Linked DNA regions of Homo sapiens: all the other regions are linked to region 1. The links are contacts of gene promoters, found by promoter capture Hi-C in human tissues and cell types (Jung and others, 2019). All regions are on one chromosome and are shown on one strand. The core of a region is centred on a gene start or on the middle of the fragment in contact, and the rest is flanking DNA. Distances in the headings are between cores, read along the strand shown. Region 1 holds the start of TRIML1 (tripartite motif family like 1). Region 2 has its middle 30 kb from the start of TRIML2. Region 3 has its middle 26 kb from the start of LINC02434.

Region 1 (2,823 bases), core at 144-2,643:
CTCTTTACAGTAGTATAACTCTTTGCTCTTATTTTTTCATAGCTTAAATTCTCATCCTAGCAATTCACGTATGCTTTACAAGGGATGTATAGGATTGAAACATTTTGAATTAATGATTTCAGAAAGGTGAGTTTTGACTAGGAGAAAGGAAGGTGGAGGAAAAAACATTCTCAGCCAGAAAACTTCTTTTTCCCAAAGTTCAAGATAAGAAAACATCCAACATCCTGTTGGAGGTAAGTGGGAAAGAAGTAGCAGTTGGAGCCTTGAAAGTCAGAAACCAATGAACGGAACAGCCTGAGTAATGGACCCGACTCGTGGAAGGCTGCCAAGCTGGAGAGTGAGGGGACGGAGACAGAAATATGGCGTGATGAGTTCGTGGGAAGGTCAAACTCGCTGGCCTTTGAGGAAGAGCTTTTGAGGTGCAACTTCCTGGCATGCAGTGAGCAGAAGGCAGGCCAGGACAGGAGCTGACTCCCGAGCAGGGGACACAGTGAATTTGTGGCATTTGTTACCAATCTCGGAGTTCACTGTGCACAGTCTCCACACTAGGCATTTACTTTTTCATATGTCCGAAAAAATGTCTGCACACTTCATTTCTGTCCAGTAAGAACTGATAATCAGGGATTTGAAGGGGCCTAGTTTGGAAATTTTCAATGGGTGAAAATAAGTGAGCAAAATTACATTTATACTAAAATATAATTCTTTCCATCTGCTCCATAGTGGGATAGCCTCTTGAGGCAACTTCCAATTAGAATGTCATTTTAGATGCTTTCCAAGATGGCAGATGGGTGAGTACTAGGGTGTGCAGGGAAGATCAATAAACAGCTCTGGCAATTCATCGTGCGCCTAACACCAAGGAATACTTCAGTGGAAGAGCTCTCATTTTGTTGGGATGAATAAAATTAAATAAAAGTACACAGTACCCAATAAAGGAACAAAAGCTTAGGCTTTGGTCAAGCAGAACAAAAGGGGCTAATGAGAAAAGGACTATGTATTACAGTTTTCTTCTCTCAGTTCTCAACTAGGTTTTATTAGTGGAGTTCCCAAAAGATTTGGACCAAATTTCCAATTCAGATATTATTAGAGATCATCAAAACTCAAATCTCTTTACTGGTTTACACCAAATCACCCAAGCTTCCAGCCTAAAACCCACATGCTCACATGGTTCCACAGTGCTGTTTATGTACAATAACCAGTTCTCAAAATGGTAATCCTGTTAGAAGCCAGAATCCTCAGCCTCTAGCATGTGTGCTTTTCACAGAGATAAGTCTCAAAGTTTGGGGTTGGTGAGGAGCCCAGTATACAGGAGTTCCACATTAAGTCATAATTGGCTTTGTGTTGGACAGTGTATGTCAGCTGGTGAAATCAGGCACAGAAGAGATAAGGGTTTCTTGTCATAACAACATAGGAACAGGTCACCCGCGTGTTACTCAAAACTGTAGGACGGCAGTGAGGGCTTTGCTAATCCCAGAACAGAGGTGTAACCTGGCTGCATATCCAGCCTCGAGAAAATGTCTACAGCAGATCTGATGGAGAACCTCAGGGAGGAACTCACCTGTTTCATCTGCTTAGACTATTTCAGCAGCCCAGTGACCACCGAGTGTGGGCACAGCTTTTGTCTGGTGTGTCTCCTCAGGAGCTGGGAGGAACATAACACACCTTTATCTTGTCCTGAGTGCTGGAGGACCTTGGAGGGCCCGCATTTCCAGTCAAACGAGCGTCTGGGGAGGCTGGCCAGCATCGCCAGGCAGCTCCGGTCCCAGGTGCTGCAGAGCGAGGATGAGCAGGGCAGCTACGGGAGGATGCCCACCACTGCCAAGGCGCTCTCCGATGACGAGCAGGGTGGAAGCGCCTTCGTAGCCCAGAGCCATGGTGCAAACAGAGTGCATCTCTCCAGCGAGGCTGAGGAGCATCACAGAGTAAGACAGCTGCTCAGCATGAACCCCACGACTCATCGCAGCTAACTCCGTTAGCTTTCCTGACGTTTCCTAACGTCCTCTGTGGGGGACAGTCACGAGGGCCCATCTGAGCACCACATCACAAACTGGCGTGGGTCCAGTTTACACCCTTTTTTTTCCCTTTTTTTGTTTTTGAGACAGAGTTTTGCTCTGTTGCCCAGGCTGGAGTGCAGCAGTGCGATCTCAGTCACTGCAACCTCCGCCTCCCAGGTTCACGCCATTCTCCTGCCTCAGCCTCCCCAGTAGCTGGGACTACAGTCACCCACCACCACGCCCGGCTAATTTTTTGTATTTTTAATAGAGACGGGGTTTCACCATGTTGGCCAGGCTGGTCTTGAACTCCTGACCTCAGGTGATCCGCCTGCCTCGGCCTCCCAAAGTGCTGGGATTACAGGCGTGAGGCGCCGCACCCAGCCTGCCCTTTGTTTTAGAGGCCTAGGACTGCGCAGTTACTGGTCTTCAAAGCCCCTTCATGACCTGGGACTCTGCTCATTTGCCAGAAAGGGTTTGTTTCTATTGCAGGAGAAACTCCAGGAAATCCTGAATCTTTTGCGTGTAAGGAGAAAGGAAGCTCAGGCTGTACTAACCCATGAGAAGGAGAGAGTGAAACTGTGCCAGGTCGGTGTCTGTCTGACTTTTGCTGCTTGTATATGACCCCATAAGGGGGACTAAAGGGAAATTTAGTGAAATATCAGGAAAAAAAAAAGACAAATTTTTCCAGTCTCACCTCTAAAATATGCAGTTTCCTTGCATTGGGCTGCCTTCTTCTGAGCGTCCTCGTGGGAGTCTCAAGGCTCAGCTGCAATTCGCCCCCTCTAGGAGCCTCCTTTGCATAACTAGACAACGCTGTGGCTTCCTCTATGAT
Region 2 (2,823 bases), core at 152-2,651, 60 kb before region 1:
TCGTATATGTCCGCAGTTGACTGGAGCCGTCATTAGGCAGCATATGACTGTAGTCCATTAATTTTAAGTATTCAAAACAATTTCCATCCATTCACAATTCAAACAATTGCTCACAATTTTGTACAGCTATTAATCCAGGAAACCATTAGCCTAGGAAGCCAAATGTTTAGTTAGACACAAGTTTAGGGAAACATTTGAGTATTGCTGGAGGACAAAAGCACTCACTAAATAACCAGTGGCTGATTACCGGCCTCTGGACCATGGCCAGTTGGAATAGCTCCATGTCATTCTTTCTTTCTTTCTCTTTTTTTTAAGTTTTGTTATTACAAGAATAATTTTCTATATTAGACTGTTTTCACTTTATTAACTTTATCATAAGTATGCCAACTTCTGCAAACTTGGAGCAATTGCAATAATCTATTGATTTATTTTCACCAAATTTTCACTTTATTTGCCCAGAATTCAAGCTTGTCTGTTAATTTCCCAGGTCTTCAATGACTTGTCTCTTATTGGCTAGCATCTCCTTATTTTCCTTGTTCAATTAGTAAGGTTTTCCTTATTATATTACTTTTTTGGGGGGCCTTTCTCTGTTAGTATATAGATTTTCTCCTGAGAGCTAAAAATCTTCATAACACCTTAGTCAATATACCTTTGAAAAAACCCCTTATATTGGCTGGTTGCGGTGGCTCACACCTATAATCTCAGCACTTTGGGCGGCCGAGATGGGCAGTTCACCTGAGGTCAGGAGTTTGAGACCAGCCTGGCCAACAAGGTGAAACCCCGTCTCTACTAAAAATACAAAAATTAGCTGGATGTGGTGGCAGGCACCTGTAATCCCAGCTACTCGGGAGGCTGAGGCAGGAGAACTGCTTGAACCTGGGAGGCAGAGGTTGCAGTGAGCCAAGATCACACCACTGCACTCCAGCCTGGGTGACAAGAGCGAGCAAAACTCTGTCTCAAAAAAAAAAAAAATCCCTTATATTATAATTGTCATTGAAATAATCTGACATTCCTAGTAACCTCTGACACTAAAATTTTCTTCGCTTTTAATAGAAACACAATTCATCATTTATCCATTATCCATTGTTTTGAATTTAATTTAATTCACCAAAATAATACATATATTTTAGTACCAAAGATCAAAAAGTGCTCGAAGGTTTATAATTAAAAAAAAAAAATCCTCTCTTCTCCCCCATTCCGGCTATCTAGATACAGTCATGTCCAACTCTCAGTTCTTTCTTATAGAATATGCATGATATTCCCTCATCTTTCATTTAAGTTAAGGAATATCATGTATATTCTATAAGAAACAGAATGAGGCATTCTATTTCTATTTCCTTAGAAATAGAAATTGGAAATAGAAATCTAAATTGGAAAGATTGGCCAGTTGCAGTGACTCACACCTGTAATCCCAGCACTTTGGGAAGCCAAGGTGGAGGACTGCTTGAGTCCAGAAGTTTGAGACCAGCCTGGGCAACAGAGCAAGACACCATCTCTACAAAAAGGTAAACAATTAGCTGGGCGTGGCGGTGCAAGCCTGTAGTCCACGCTACTTGGGAAGCTGTGGTAGAAGAATCCCTTGAGTCCAGGAATTCAAGGCTGCAGAATGGGCAGAATGACTGTGCCACTGCACTCCAGCCTGGGTAACAGGGTGAGACCCTGTCGAAAGAAAAGAAAAAAAAAAAGAAAGAAAAGAGAAAGAAAGAAGGATTATCTTTTACCTTTTACTTGCTACAGATAACTTCCCTGCCACCTCATTCCAATATAGTCAAAGCAACATTTTATTAAGCCATCAACACCTTTGTTTTTTATGGAGTTAACAGTTCTCTCTATATATATTTAGTTTTTTTTTCCTAGTGTACCAAACACAGATTCATCCCTTATACTGTCCTATGGAGCTATAAAGCTTTTCTTGACATAGCCAAACGGCTAGGAAATAATCAATTCTATTTATTTTTTCCTTCAAGGTACCCTTCTGTGAATCTTCCACCTTTTGTTCTAATTAGGGCCAACTGATGCTGTCGTCCTGGGAATTTTCCCATTCACCATCACTTTGCTAATTCCTTCACCTCTTTGCTTTCCTGTACTCAGGAGACATCCTTGGCAAAACTTAATGGTTGCTGGGTCATGATGAAATATTATAGGCATACTAGAGAAGCTGCTTGATTAAGTAGCCATCAGTTCGACAAAACAAAAAACAAAAACAAACAAAAGCTAATTTGTAGAGTTTTTTAGATAAAATTGTCCTGTGAAACTTCAAAATCAAGCTTCCTCATCTGTTCATTAATGCTGAGATCTTTGTTTTGTTCCTTCAGGTAAGGCAAATACCCGACATACAGGGATTGTTTAATAAACACTTTCTGGGTTTCTTGTTCATTCATTTAACGCCTTTGCCATCATGGGGTTTCCATTCCAGACAGGAAGTTAAATACATAATGTTAAATCAGGTCATGATTAATGCTACAAAGAAAATAATGTAGGGTAAGAGGTAAGAGAATGAGTGGGGATTGGAGAGAATGTTCAGGGAGGGCGCTCTTTGTGGAGGACAGATCAAGAAAGGCCTGTGTGGTGGCAGCCAGCTGGAGCCTAGCACTGCGGTCCAGATGAAAGATCACAGCCTCAACTAGTGTGGTCAAAGGGAGGATGGCGAGTGTTTGCTGAGGGACATATATGGATGGTAGAGCTGACAGTCTTTGCTGATAGATTGAACACAGAATGGCAGCAAAATAAAGGATGGCTCCAAAGTCTGTGCTGTCAGAATGAGCCCCTGAAGCTTTTAGAATGCACGGGGTGCCTGCGAGGGTGGCACATTTGGGAATCTAG
Region 3 (2,823 bases), core at 144-2,643, 47 kb after region 1:
AGTAGAGGAAATAACCTGTTAGAAAAATCTGTAAAAGGTACTAACAAGTACTTTACAGAACAGGAATATAAGTGGCCAGTAGATATATATAAAAAGATTCTCAATTCGTAATAATCAGTAAAAGGCAATTTAATATTTAATGAAATCTCATGATACACCTAATACATAGGTAAATATGACCAGGATATAGAACAAGGATGTCCCTGGGGCAGTTGCTAAGAGTGTGAATTGGTGCAATGACTTTCAAAATCAATTTGGCATTATCTTGTAAACTGAATGTGAGTATGCCCAATTCTAGTATGTGCTGTAGGAAAAATGTCTACCCCTTTGCACAAGGAATCATACAAAATAATGTTTCTAGGAGCATTGTTAATAATAGCAAAAGACAAGAACAAAACCTTGCAAGTAACCAAATGTCTATTGGGTCTATTTGTGGGAAAATGGATAAAGAAATTGAGGTTTATTCATGAATTGGACACTATATAATGGTGAAAATGAATAAACTTGAATTACACATGTCAGGGTGATCGAAACTCAGAAAGTTAATACATTGTGGAAGCAAGTTGTGGAAAGATATGCAGCATGATACTGTATTATAAATTCAAAGCCAAGCACACTAGGCAGTGTATTAACAGCTGTGCAACACGTATGTGAATGGAACTCTTGGAGAAAACCCAGGGCCAGGGATGAAGTAACAGAAGCGAACAGGAGCTTCAGAGATAACAGTGACGTTCCATGTCTTAGTGTGGGTGAAGGGGTCAATGGTGTTTGTTTCATGAAAATCTATCTCTATCTGCTATCTGTCTGTCTGTCTGTCTATCTATCTATCTCTCTATCTATCTATCTTCTATCTAATCTTATCTATCCATCCTATCTACAGATGTATATGTTTGTGTGTATATAAATATACATCTGTCACAAACATTCTCTTATGTGTATCAAATATTTTCATAATAAAAACATTTACAAAATCTCCTACTCTTTCTAGTCCTGTTATTCCATAGTTTCCCCTTCTGTGTCTTGTTTTGTAAACTTAATGTGTGGGCCAGGTGCAGTGGCTCACGCCTATATTCCCAGCACTTTGGGAGGCTGAAGCGGGTGGATCACCTGAGGTCAGGAGTTCGAGAGCAGCCTGGTCCAACATGGTGAAACCCTGTCTCTACTAAAAATACAAAAATTAGCTGGGTGTGGTTGTGGGTGCCTGTAATCCCAGCTACTCAGGAGGCTGAGGCAGGAGAATCACTTGAACTTGGGAGGCTGAGGTTGCAGTGAGCTGAGGTGGCACCACTGCACTCCAGCCTGGGGGACAAAGTGAGACTCCATCTCAAACAAAAATAAAAAAAGAAAATAAAAAAATAAACTTAATGTGTGGATGTTGTTCCTTCCCAGTATACATTATTTTCCTCCAGCTTTATTTAGGTATAATTGATAAATTAAAATTATATATATTCAAGTAATACAATATGGTAATTTGAGATATGTTTACATTGTGAAATGACCACAGTCAAGTTATTTAACAATCATCATCACACATAGTTACCTCTGTGTGTGTGTGTGTGTGTGTGTGTGTGTGTATTATGTGTATGTGGTTAGGACACCTAAGATCTACTGTCTCAGACAATTTCAAGTATTCACTGCCTCCTTGTATATATGGATGCAGTGTATACTTGAAATTGTCTAAGAGAGTAGAAGCTTTTTATCTTCTGTCTTTCTTTTTCTTTTTTTTGAGACGGAGTCTCTCTCTGTCGCCCAGGCTGAAGTGCAGTGGTGTGATCTCGGCTCACTGCAACCTCCGCCTCCCAGGTTCATGCCATTCTCCTGCCTCAGCCTCCGAGTAGCTGGGACTCAACGCCCGGCTAATTTTTTGTATTTGTAGTAGAGACGGGGTTTCACCGTGTTAGCCAGGATGGTCTCTATCTCCTGACCTCTTGATCCGGACCCTTCTGCTGTTAAAGCTTGAAACTTGTATTCATTTTATCTGAGTTAGGTCCTCAGGAAAGAACCTTCAGTCCTCTCAAAAAAAAGTGTCGAAGAACTGAAACTCACCAGATCATATGCCTTCTTGTTTTCTTACACATTGTTATATTTATTTCCTGCTGTATAAATCCCTAGTTGTAGTCAGTCAGGGAGAGGATTTGAGACTGAGCTCCCATCTCCTTGGCTGCAGCATCCCATTAAAAACTTCTTCCTTGGCAATACTTGTTGATTGGCTTTCTGTGCAGTGAGAACAGGACCTAGACCAAATCCCTGGTGTTTTGGCAACAAAATGATGTGTAAAATCTCTATGCAGATAGCTATAAAACATTGCTCAGAGAAAGAAATACTGCACAATTTTAGGTTTTTTTTTTTTTTTAGATGGAGTCTTGCTCTGTCGCCCAGGCTGGAGTACATTGGTGCAATCTCAGCTCATTGCAACCCCTTTCTCCCAGGTTCAAGCAATTCTCCTGTCTCAGCCATGCAAGTAGCTGGGATTACAGGCTCCCACTATCATGCCTGGCTAATTTTTGTATTTTTAGTACAGATGGGGTTTTACCATGTTGGCCAGGCTGATCTTGAACTCCTGACCTCAAGTGACCCACCCACCTTGGCCTCCCGAAGTGCTGAGATTACAGGTATGAGCCACCTCCCCCAGCCAGGTCTTTCTTAATTAATTCAAGGTGGACTATATATCCAAACATAATTGCTAAAACTATAAAGCTTTTCAAAGAAAGCATAGGAGAATATCTTTGTTACCTTTTAGTAGGCAAAGATTGCTTACACAGAACTTGGGAAGCACACACACACACACACACACACACAAACCCAGATAAATTAGACTTATTT

Evidence for each region. The method cuts DNA at HindIII sites, captures the fragments that hold promoters and counts their contacts. A contact is called where the count stands out against the background at its distance.
Region 2: a contact is called between a fragment that was not itself captured here and the fragment with the promoter of TRIML1 in region 1, in 4 of the 25 tissues and cell types used here (H1 embryonic stem cells, heart left ventricle, neural progenitor cells and 1 more).
Region 3: a fragment that was not itself captured here is called in contact with the fragment with the promoter of TRIML1 in region 1 in 3 of the 25 tissues and cell types used here (adrenal gland, heart left ventricle and psoas muscle).

The regions. Positions count from the first base shown.
Region 1 is chr4:188,138,048-188,140,870 of GRCh38, forward strand. It overlaps TRIML1 (tripartite motif family like 1), which reads left to right and starts at 1,394. Exons shown (of 6, transcript NM_178556.5): 1 at 1,394-1,919; 2 at 2,481-2,576. The coding sequence starts at 1,512. The HindIII fragment of the contact is 25,840 bases long and covers 1-2,823 here.
Region 2 is chr4:188,078,086-188,080,908 of GRCh38, forward strand. No RefSeq gene overlaps it. Among named protein-coding and RNA genes, the nearest start is that of TRIML2, 30 kb to the right of the region's middle. The HindIII fragment of the contact is 3,588 bases long and covers 1-2,823 here.
Region 3 is chr4:188,185,091-188,187,913 of GRCh38, forward strand. No RefSeq gene overlaps it. Among named protein-coding and RNA genes, the nearest start is that of LINC02434, 26 kb to the left of the region's middle. The HindIII fragment of the contact is 3,842 bases long and covers 1-2,823 here.